2 separate regions of the Homo sapiens genome follow, and region 2 is linked to region 1. Evidence: promoter capture Hi-C in human tissues and cell types (Jung and others, 2019). All regions are on one chromosome and are shown on one strand. The core of a region is centred on a gene start or on the middle of the fragment in contact, and the rest is flanking DNA. Distances in the headings are between cores, read along the strand shown. Region 1 holds the start of GTPBP1 (GTP binding protein 1). Region 2 holds the start of TNRC6B (trinucleotide repeat containing adaptor 6B).

Evidence for each region. Contacts are between HindIII fragments. The study calls those that stand out against the background at their distance.
Region 2: a contact is called between a fragment that was not itself captured here and the fragment with the promoter of GTPBP1 in region 1, in 1 of the 25 tissues and cell types used here (dorsolateral prefrontal cortex).

Annotation. Positions count from the first base shown.
Region 1 is chr22:38,704,694-38,710,074 of GRCh38, forward strand. GTPBP1 (GTP binding protein 1) reads left to right here and starts at 1,251. Exons shown (of 12, transcript NM_004286.5): 1 at 1,251-1,454; 2 at 4,152-4,263. The coding sequence starts at 1,263. RefSeq lists enhancers at 9-694, 695-1,380, 930-1,079, 1,381-2,066 and silencers at 700-849, 1,170-1,579, 1,760-1,899. The HindIII fragment of the contact is 4,768 bases long and covers 1-2,272 here.
Region 2 is chr22:40,172,851-40,178,231 of GRCh38, forward strand. It overlaps TNRC6B (trinucleotide repeat containing adaptor 6B), which reads left to right and starts at 5,075. Exons shown (of 23, transcript NM_001162501.2): 1 at 5,075-5,290. The coding sequence starts at 5,286. RefSeq lists an enhancer at 4,914-4,963. The HindIII fragment of the contact is 5,621 bases long and covers 1-4,926 here.

The DNA.
Region 1 (5,381 bases), core at 1-2,500:
GATTCCCAGCTGTGTTTGTGCAAATAAGACTTGATAGTAGTGGAAAACAGGGACAAGAAGAGACTGTCTCTTTCTTCTCAGGTAGATCCCCAAAACTGAAAGCCATTTTCAATCCTGCCACTTGCTCACTAAAGATTTAGGGTTTAGGTCCAAACCCTAAGTCTTGGATTCCTTATCTTCTCAAACATGCTCTTGTTTGCTTGATGCCTGGTTCGAGTGGCCAAGGCCGACATTCATAGACGTTGGTTAATCCCTAATTTCGCCAAACAATGACGGCCTAGGCTTTTCCGGCTTTTGAAACAGGAATTCAAGACACTAAAACGTGTGTTGATGGCATTTTGGGTTGGGGCTTTTCACAACTGATGACACTGGAAAAATAATCCATAGGAAACTACCTTATGAGACCCTAGATTTCGGTTTAGCAGTTCACCACAAAAGTGGTGAGGTGTTTTTTGGCTTTTAATTTTAGCTGCTTGCCTCTGTTTTTAGTTCGTGTGATTGCCTCCGCAAAGGCAGTGAATGGAGAATTCTCCCTAAGGTCAGCATTTAATTATTGCCTCACTCTGGCTGCTATAGTATTACAACTCTTGGAACTTACAGCATCGATCCTACTATTAAAGTTGCCTGGAGCATGCCAGCACGTTGGACATCGGCGTTCCAGCAACTGCCTCAGTCACTGAATCGAGTGGGAGGCTCATTTTGCAGTTTACTATCTCCATGAGCAGGTCCAGGCGCGGGACCTGTTCTATGACTCGATTGGGTCCTGCCCTTGTCCGTCATCGGAAGGCTTACAGCGCCTACTGTTTTGCAGTAAGATTTGCAGGCTTAGTACCGCCTCTGGAAACAAGGAGAGTGAAGGGGCGTTGACGAGTAACGTTGTTTGTATTTCTCTCCTCATTGGATGGCTGCTGTGTCAGTCAGACACTTCTCTGCTTCCGTTGGCGGGAAGGCTTCAGGCGGGTAGCGGGGACTCGGTACTGCCCCCTCCCAAGCTGGGAGCAGGGCGCGTGACGTCTCAGACATTTGTTGTTGGGATTTGGGCCTCATTAATTATTCATTAGGTACTTGAAAGCTCTGCAGGGATTGGTGGCTGAGAGGCCTAGTCGACTGTTTCTTAGCTAGAGGTACGTGTCACCCAGTACGCGGCTGGAGTTTTGCATAAATTATTCCGATAAGGAGCGGGGCGGGGCTCTGTGCATAGATTAGTCAAATGAGCCTGGGAGGGAGGGAAGCCGGCTACGAATTAGCCTAAGTTATTAAAGATGGCGACGGAGCGCAGTCGCTCCGCGATGGACTCGCCGGTCCCGGCCTCTATGTTCGCCCCCGAGCCCAGCTCCCCGGGGGCGGCCAGGGCCGCGGCGGCCGCCGCCCGACTCCACGGCGGCTTTGACTCGGACTGCAGCGAGGACGGCGAGGCGCTCAACGGCGAGCCAGAGCTGGACCTCACCAGCAAGGTAGGCCCGGGCGGCGGCGGCGGGCGCTGAGGGGAGCGGGCGGCTGGCCGAGCAGTCTCCCGGGCGACGGCGGGGCCAGCGGCCGCCCTGTCCGCGGGGAGCGCGGAACGGGAAGAAGGGGCCGAGCCCGCCCACCTGCTAGTCTCCGGGACGTGCGGGGGTTCGCGGCGCGAGGGGCCGTCCCCATGGTCCCCGCACCCACCTTGGCTCCCCCGCGTCGCCAACCCAGCCTCCCGCCCTCCCGTCTCCCGCCGAGATCGTAACCCCTCGGCTCTGCCACGTGGAACGGGGGCGCCCGATGCCAGCTGCGCTCCGCGCGTTCCCTGTCCCCGCTCAGTGCCCCTCCCCGTTCTTCGGGTCCCCACTTGAGGGGATTCGGAGACCGAGAGTCTCCTCTCCCTGGACCGCGCGGGACAGCAGAGGGGCGAGGGGGCCCGGGCAGGGGGCCGAGACGCTCATGAAGACAGGTAGTCGGAGGCCAGGGCAGGGTGGCCGCCGCGTCTCTTCCCAGACTCGGGAAAGGAAACAGAAAGTAGTCGCTCAGCTGGGGAGGAGCATGTCCGAGAATGTCTACTTTTCGAGGCCACCCGAAACAAAATGGAAAGATGGTCAGGCTCCTTAGTCTCGCTATCCTGTGAGTGGAAGCTCATCTTGTATGAGTGGAGCAGTGAAGGACGTTTAAAACCGTGTTTTTTGAGCTGTCGAGAAGGTAGGCAGGAATTAAGGCCTCGCCAACGGCTTGACATTGTGAAGAATAGAAAAGTAAATACAAGATGTGACTGGTGTTTTGAAGGTGCTTAACGTTCCTTAGGGAAAGAATGCCAACTTGGGAGTCAGACAGGGCTGGGTTCCCTTTCCTGCCCTACCATCGAAAGGCTCTGTGACGTTGGGAAAGTTTCTTAACCTTTCAGTTCTCCAACCACCTCATCTTAAGAAAGTACAGATGGGTTGTAAAAATTAGAAATATTTAAGAAGACACCTAATAGTGCCTGATGCATACTAGAGACTCAGTAAATGTTTGAAGTGAACGAGATAGTTCCTAATTTCCTGTGCAGATTAAATAGCAGTGGGTGAAAGATAGAACACCAATACCACCACTTACATTTGTAGGATAGTTACGATAGACATTTTATCCAGCTTTGAAAATGTTTGTGACTTTTTATAGTTTATGGCGGCAAATTTGCATGAAACTTGGTCCTAAACTGGGGAGGAACTTTCCCTGCAACCTAAGCAAGTTATTTTCAACTGCTCTTTGCCATTGTAGTCTCAGGTGAGCACTTGGAAGCCAGCTAGCCTGTCAAAGTTGGTCCTGTCTTGTGCCTGTAAGGCCATAATGAGGATGGCCAAACTTAGAGAGAGGGATGGCCAGGACGATGTAAAAGACCCAGGAAACATCCAGGTTACAATTACAAGCTCTGATGAGTCAACTCAGGAAGTTACAAGATTATGGACCTGACTCAAGAGCAAACAAACTGGATGTCAACACATGGTCAAGGTGCTGAAGAAACATGATAGGAAATTGCAGGGCAGAGTTGCAAAGACGGTAGTACCTTCATTTCTTGACCAGCTCATTTAATATTCCTAGAAGTGTTATTTCATCACATAGCTGGGGAAGTCCTCCTTACAATTAAAAAAAATCATATGTATATTAATATCGATGATATCAAAAAGAAAAAGTGATGGTGTGGAGGGAGAGAAGGGTTGGGTTGAATAGATTGATTCCGGAGGAACAGATTAGAAGCGAAAGGTTCATGTCCTTACGATAGAAAATGTGGAGACCTAAGGCTCCGAGAGCTTCCAAAGGGAGAAACACTTAGTGAATAGTGGTGGCTAGTTTCATCCAACAAGGTTTTTCTGGGAATGATTGGGTGAAGAAAACCTTGTAGTTTCACATTTATTGAGCTGTGGACTAGATGCTTTACATGTTATTATATTTGCTCTTTACAGTGGCCTTAGGATGCAGGTAGTATTAGCTCCGTTTTATAGATTGAAAAACTGAAACTCAGAGTGGTTAAATTCTTTGTCCAAGGTCACACAGGAGTGGTTAGAGAATGGGGTCTGATTGCCAAATGGCTTACCCAAGTAAATGGTTGACACTTCAATGTTATTGGCAGACATTTGCAAAATGACGGTGCTAATACTCCTCGTAGTGGTAATGGTGATGGTGCTTTGTTGATGAAGATGAGTCTTGCAGGCAGTTTTCATTCCCAAATATTCAATATAGCTAAGACAAGATAGAACAGAATTCTTTTGTTATCCTGGAAGCCACTGGCCTGTGGGTGGAGGGCATGGAGGTATATGAGGTATATGTCTTGTGGGCTTCCAGATGCCAACTGCAGGTAGAAGACTTTGGCATGTAGATGGAAAGCACTGCGCTTTCTATCCACAGTGCCATATTCTCAGTCACTTGGGTCCTGCCCTTCCTGTTAAGCAGCAGGAGGCAGGCTGCTTGTGCCCTCTTTACCATGGGTTATGGCTCAGACATACACATTGTAGTATATTATTTGGCTCATATAAGGCCTGAGGCTCAAAGGCTACTTCAGGAGAAGCAGAGAGGGCATGAAGGGGCTGTGCAGCCTTTTTAGATGAGGGTGCTATGGGGTTCAGTCAGGATCTTTGGTTAGGCTATATTGATCAGCTTTGGCTGTGGTGCTCTTCTAGCAAGTGTGGTCCTAAGGCTGTTGGTTTCTTTTCTAGCTGGTTCTAGTGAGCCCTACATCAGAGCAGTATGACAGCCTACTTCGGCAGATGTGGGAGAGGATGGACGAGGGATGCGGAGAGACCATATATGTCATTGGGCAGGGATCAGGTGAGCATAGTTTTCCTTTCACTTTATTTTTAAAAATTATTGGGCCGGGTGCGGTGGCCCTGCCGCCTGTAATCCCAGCACTTTGGGAGGCCAAGACGGGTGGATCACCTGAGGTCAGGAGTTCGAGACCAGCCTGGCCAACATGGTGAAACCCCATCTCTACTAAAAATACAAAAAATTAGCCGGGCGCTAATTAGTGGTGGCAGGCGCCTGTAATCCCAGCTACTTGGGAGGCTGAGGCAGAAGAATTGCTTGAACCTGGGAGGCGGAGGTTGCAGTGAGCCAAGATCGTGCCATTGTGCTCCAGCCTAGGCGACAAGAGTGAAACTCTGTCTCAAAAAAAAAAAGAAATTATTTAGAGCACATTTTCCCCGCTTTTTGAACTTTTCTGCTTATGTGTCTCAGTTACAGTGATTCTTTAGTGTCTGCAGAACTGTTTGGAGTACATAAAAGTACAAAGTGAATGTTAATTCTGACCTTAGTGGCCATAATATGCTTGACTTTCCAAGCAGTTTTACAGATGCTTCCTTTTTACCTCCAGTACTCTCTATTTGCATAAGAGGAAATGAAGCACAAAGCAAAGGAACTTCTTGTCTAAGGTAATAGGGCAAGCCATAGTTAGGTCTAGAATTAAGCTTATTCCTGGGCAGCTGGAGGTCTTCCCTTCCAGGCCCTGTTTACAGATCCCATTGCGACTTATTTTCTGCTTAGCAGAGGACCTCCGTGATTCTTCTTGGTGTCAGCAGAGAAAAGATGCCCAGAATTCCTCTCTTGTCAGGCTCCTTGCCCCAGACCCTACTGACTATTTAGTCTGGATAGCTGGGATAACAGAGGTCGTCCTCTCTCCCCACTGGATCCTGTCAGACACATAGGCTTGTAACCATTCTGAAAGGGACTGGTTATTGTTCTCCAAGCTGCTTATTCCTTGTAACAGAACCTACTATTTTAGAGGAAGGCAGCCCTCACAACAATCCCAGAGTATATTATGGTTTCTTCCCCTGGTCACTCCTAGTTAGCAACTTCAATACAAGACCTGCTTACCTTCATCTTCATTATGGGATTATCTTTGCTGAAATGACAGCTGGGGTTGTTAACGATTATGAATTCAGCCCATACCA
Region 2 (5,381 bases), core at 866-3,365, 1.5 Mb after region 1:
GTTGTTGTTCCCCTAATTTTTCTTGAGTTGATTTTGGTAACTTCTGTTTTCTTTGACTATCATCCATCTTATTTAATCTTCAAGTTTATTTATGTAAAGTTACATATAATTCTAGCATGAGTTAAAAGATTTTCTCTAAATCTGCAGTTATGATATCCTCTTTCTCAGCCCTAATGTTTGTGACTTCTCTCTTTCAATTGATCAGATTTTTGACAGAATTATCTACATTTATTTAGTGTTTTAAAACAAAATATAGTTTTTGGTTTTGTTTTTTGGTTTTTTTTTGAGATGGAGTCTCGCTCTACTGGTGATCTCCGCTCACTGCAACCTCCACCTCGCGGATTCAAGCAATTCTCCTGCCTCAGGTTCCCGAGTAGCTGGGACTACAGGTGCGTGCCACCACGCCCGGCTAATTTTTGTATTTGTAGTAGAGACGGGGTTTCACCATGTTGACCAGGATGGTCTTGATCACTTGACCTCGTGATCCACCCTCGGCCTCCCAAAGTACTGGAATTACAGGTGTGAGCCATCACGCCTGGCCTAGTTTTTGTTTTTATTAATTCAGTTTACTCTTTTTTTTTTTTTTTGGCTGTTACTTTATATCTGTGCCAAAAACAACAAAACAGATATATATATAATCTGTCACCAAGGCTGGAGTACAGTGGCGTGATCTCAGCTCAGCCTCCGGAGTAGCTAGGACCACAGGCATACCCCACCAAGCCTGGCTGACTTTTTTTATTTTTTTGTAGAGGCGAGATCTCACTATGTTTGTTGCCCAGTCTCAAACTCTTGGGCTCAAGTAAACCTCTAACTTTGGCCTCCCAAAGTGCTGGGATTACAGGCATGAGTCAACACCATGGCCAGCCTTGCTTTTATATTTATTCATTTTTGGGGTTTATTAACTCTTTTTCTAGATTTTTGAACATATATATATATATATATATTTTTTTTTTTTTTTTTTTTTTTTTTTTGAGACAGAATCTCATTCTGTTGTCCAGGCTGGGGTGCAGTGGCATGATCTTAGCTCACTGCAACCACCATCTCCCAGGTTCAAGTAATTGTCCTGCCTTAGCCTCCCAAGTAGCTGGGATTACCAGCAGGTACCACCATGCCCAGCTAAATTTTGTATTTTGAGTTGGGTTTTCACCATGTTGGCCAGGCTGGTCTTGAACTCCTGACCTCAGGTGATCTGCCTGGCTCAGTCTCCCAGAGTGCTGTGATTACAGGCGTGAGCCACCACGCCCAGCCTTTTTCTAGATTTTTGAGTTAAATACTCAGTTCAGTTATTTTTCAATCTTGTTTTCTTCTTTTTCTTTTTCTTTTTTTTTTTAGAGACAGAGTTTTGCTCTATTGCCCCAGCTGGAGGGTAGTGGCACGACCTTGCTCACTGCAGCTCACTGCAACCTGCAGCCTCCACCTTCTGGCTTCAAGTGATTCTTGAGCCTCAGCCTGCTGAGTAGTTGGGACTACAGGCGTGTGCCACCATGCCCAGCTAATTTTTGTTATTTTTAGTAGAAACGGGATTTTGCCATGTTGGCCAAGCTGGTCTCGAACTCCTGGCCTCAAGTGATCCACCCACCTCGGCGTCCCAAAGTGCTGGGATTACAGGTATAAGCCACCATGCCTGGCCAATCATGTTTTCTGATAAAAATATTTTGAGGAATGGTATGTAACCTCCAAAGGTGCCAGCTTTGAAAGATAACAGTCATTTGAATGTTCTTGTTTTTAGTTTTAGAAAATAATTTTTATGGCTGAGGCCGGCAGATCACGAGGTGATCACGAGGTGATTTAGTGAAACCCCGTCTCTACTACAAATACAAAAAAATTAGCCGAGCGTGGTGGCAGGCACCTATAGTCCCAGCTATTCGGGAGGCTGAGGCAGGAGAATGGCGTGAACCCGGGAGGCGGAGCTTGCAGTAAGCCGAGATAGCACCACTGCACTCTAGCCTGGGCGACAAAGCGAGACTCCATCTCAAAAAAAAAAAAAAAAATTTATTTCTTTGTGTCCTTACCTTACAATAATATAATTTTAAAATATTGTCTAATTGTTAATATGAAAAAAGTATAATAAATCTATCACAGAATCTATTATGTCTGGAAACACAAGGGAGAAATAATGTATTTATTGCACTTGTTTGTTTTAGATAAACGATTAGACTAATTGTATTAAATTTAGAGGTATTGCATAGAAAAGATGATGTGGAGGTTAAGGAAAAAATATTCAGTGGCCGGGCGCAGTGCCTCATGCCTGTAATCTCAGCACTTTGGGAGGCTGACGTGGGCAGATCACGAGGTCAGGAGTTCGAGACCAGCCTGGCCAACATGGTGAAACCCTGTCTCTATTAAAAATACAAAAATTATCTGGGCATGGTGGCATGTGTCTGTAATCCCAGCTACTCAGGAGGCTGAGACAGGAGAATCGCTTGAACCCAGGAGGTGGAGGTTCCTGTGAGCCGATACCATGCCACTGCACTCCAGCCTGGGTGACAGAGCAAGACTCTGTCTCAAAATATATATATATATGTTTTCAGCATATTATTTGAAATTAGAACCAATATTTTATTTAAAATATGTTTGTTCTGTTTCCAAACTTTTCATGCAGTTTGCTATTTAACACTTACAAGGCAACACATATAAATATTTGTATACAATAATATTCTACACTGGGGAATGGAGACTTAGCAAAGTTCAGTTTCATAAAGAAAGCATGTCCATCACAAATTAAAACAAGGTGGATGTTCAGTCTCCACACATTTTTACAAATCGAGCCAGCTACAAGCAAGTAGGCTTTCAGTAACTCATCTGGAAGGTATTGGAAGGATAAAAATAGACTAAATAATCAGAATTTCCATTCTAGTAGTTTCCTGCTTTTTCCTGCATCTCAATTGTCAGTGCAGGGCCTGGCTATTTCACTCAGTGCTAGGCAAAGACAGTGGAAGCTTGTTAAGCCACAGCTATTCAGGCTACCAGATTGTCCAGGCATTGGCCTTTGCCTGCCATGAAACAGCTCCTTTCCTGTCGTCATATCTGAGTGGAAAGAGCAAAGGCGGGAGACTGTATAAAGACCCAGAAGCCAGGATGACAACAAGTGTTGTGGGATTTTACAAGCATTCGTAGGTTCCTTTTCAAGGAAAGCCGGGTTTCTAGAATCCATCAGTTGTCTGCTGGCTGGCATGGCAGCCTAGTTTATGGGAGAAGCACACTAGGGAATCCTCCCTTTTCTGGCTTATAGAGATAGGTGGAGTCGATAGTCACAGGGCATTCTCATGCACTTTTTTTTTTTTTTTTTTTGAGATGGAGTTTCACTCTTGCTGCCCAGTCTGGAGTGCAATGGCGCGATCTCGGCTCACCACAACCTCCGCCTCCCGGGTTCAAGCGATTCTCCTGCTAAGCTCAGCCTCCCTAGTAGCTGGGATTACAGGCATGTGCCACCACGCTGGCTAATTTTGTATTTTTAGTAGAGACGGGGTTTCTCCATGCTGGTCAGGCTGGTCTCGAACTCCCGACCTCAGGTGATCTGCCTGCCTCGGCCTCCCAAAGTGCTGGGATTACAGGTATGAGCCACCGCACCCGGCCTCATGCGCTTTTTACCATTTTAGTTACTTTCTTTCCTGAAGCCGTCCTTAAAACATAGATGAATGCGAGTTTCTGGGAACTATGTGACCCTCATTCCCCTACATTTTTTATATTCAGGTGGCAGATTTCCTCCTACTCAGCCCAGCCCTTCTGAATAGGGTCCAAGTCATTGATTTATTCATTTATTTACCTCCTATGTGGTGTTTGGTGTGGAGCCTCACAGAGCAGTGAAGACGTGGTGTTTTTCCTTATACAGTTTACAGTCTCCTGGGGAAGACTAATGTTAAGCACATTCTTTCATAAATTGCAATTATGACCATTGCTCTGAAGAAGTAGTAAAGGATATTATGGGAGTGTTAACAGGAGGGCCTGGTCTGGACTGCGAGGGTCAAGAAGCCTTCCCAGGGTGGAGGCGAACTTTTGAGATGGCCAGGAAAAGATGAACAGAACTACTCAAAGAAGCCAAGTGCAGAGTTTCAGAGGTGAAAGAAACCAAAGATACCATCTAGGGAAGCCCAATCTCCGCCGGCTACCAATGAGAAAACGGAGGCCAGGCAGGGTGGGAGGATGGGTAAGGGACTTACTTACTTGCTGTTAGCAGTGAAGTTACACGGCCTGTGAGCCGCGGGGGCTGGAGATGCAAACCGAGCTTGGGTTTCTTAAGTGGGTAGGAGTGGAGATGTATATGCGAAGGAGAAGGGATTAGGAGTGGTGGAAACCAGGTAGGTTTTAATTTAGTGCCTAGGCTCCCTCAGCTGCAGAGCTACCTCCTGCGGTGGGGGAGGGGATTAAAGATGACTCAGACCTGCCCTAGCCCAGAGAAACTCCGTTTGCAGTGCTGAAGCATAGTTTTTATTTGGGTTTGGGGGAGGAGGTACTGAACACACATACAGGCAAAACAATAAGTGTAGAGTTCAGAATTGGGAAACCAGTCCCTCTTCTGCAGCTGTTCAGCTGTGTGATTTGGGATAAGTCACTTAACCTTTCTGAATTGCAGTTCAGTTTATACTTTTGTGCGTTTCTTTCAGTCTTTTTCTATACATTTTAGGAGTTTCTTAGAGATCAGTCGTGCCCTGTATTTCACCTCATTCTTTCAAAGCTAAAGCCTCTTGTTTGGTAGAGCTGTGTTTCAGCCCCTTTTACAGAGCAGTTTGCCAGCCTGTGCTTGCCCAAACATCTAGAGAATAACTAGCAAGCGAGCCAGGAGAAGATCCAGGAGCTGTAAGAATCGTTAGCAACTGAGCATATTTCTATAAACCAATAAAGGTTTTTCTGTTTTGTTCATCTGTTACCCTTATGCTGTTGCCACTTTCACATGCAGTGTCTGTAGGCGGAGAGTATGAGATAACAGCATTTCACAAATGAAAGTGAGTGGAAAAGGGCTGCTTCCCCTTTAAGGCAGTCTCAGCTCCAGCTCCCTCCCCTTTCCTGATTGACAAACCTACCCGAAGTCACATGATCTGCCTCTATTTGAAGGTCACAAAAAGCTGCTTCCTTTAGAGACAGAGAGGGAGAGAGAGAGCAAGAGGGAGAGTGTGTGAGAGAGAGTTAGTTCAAGCCAAAATGGCCGACAGAGTCTCTGCTGGTTTCTGAATATTTAAAATACAAAAAAACAGATAGACAAAAAGAATTCATTTTTTGGACCTTTTTTCATTTCCATTTCTACCTTGTATGCCTCAATTTGCTGGATTTAAGCACTGCTGCACTTTATGAGGTTGGTAAATATTTTCAATTTTTTTTAACCAATTGATTTATATGGATCTTGTCTAACCGTTTTCACTGGTGGTGTTGCAAATCGACATTTG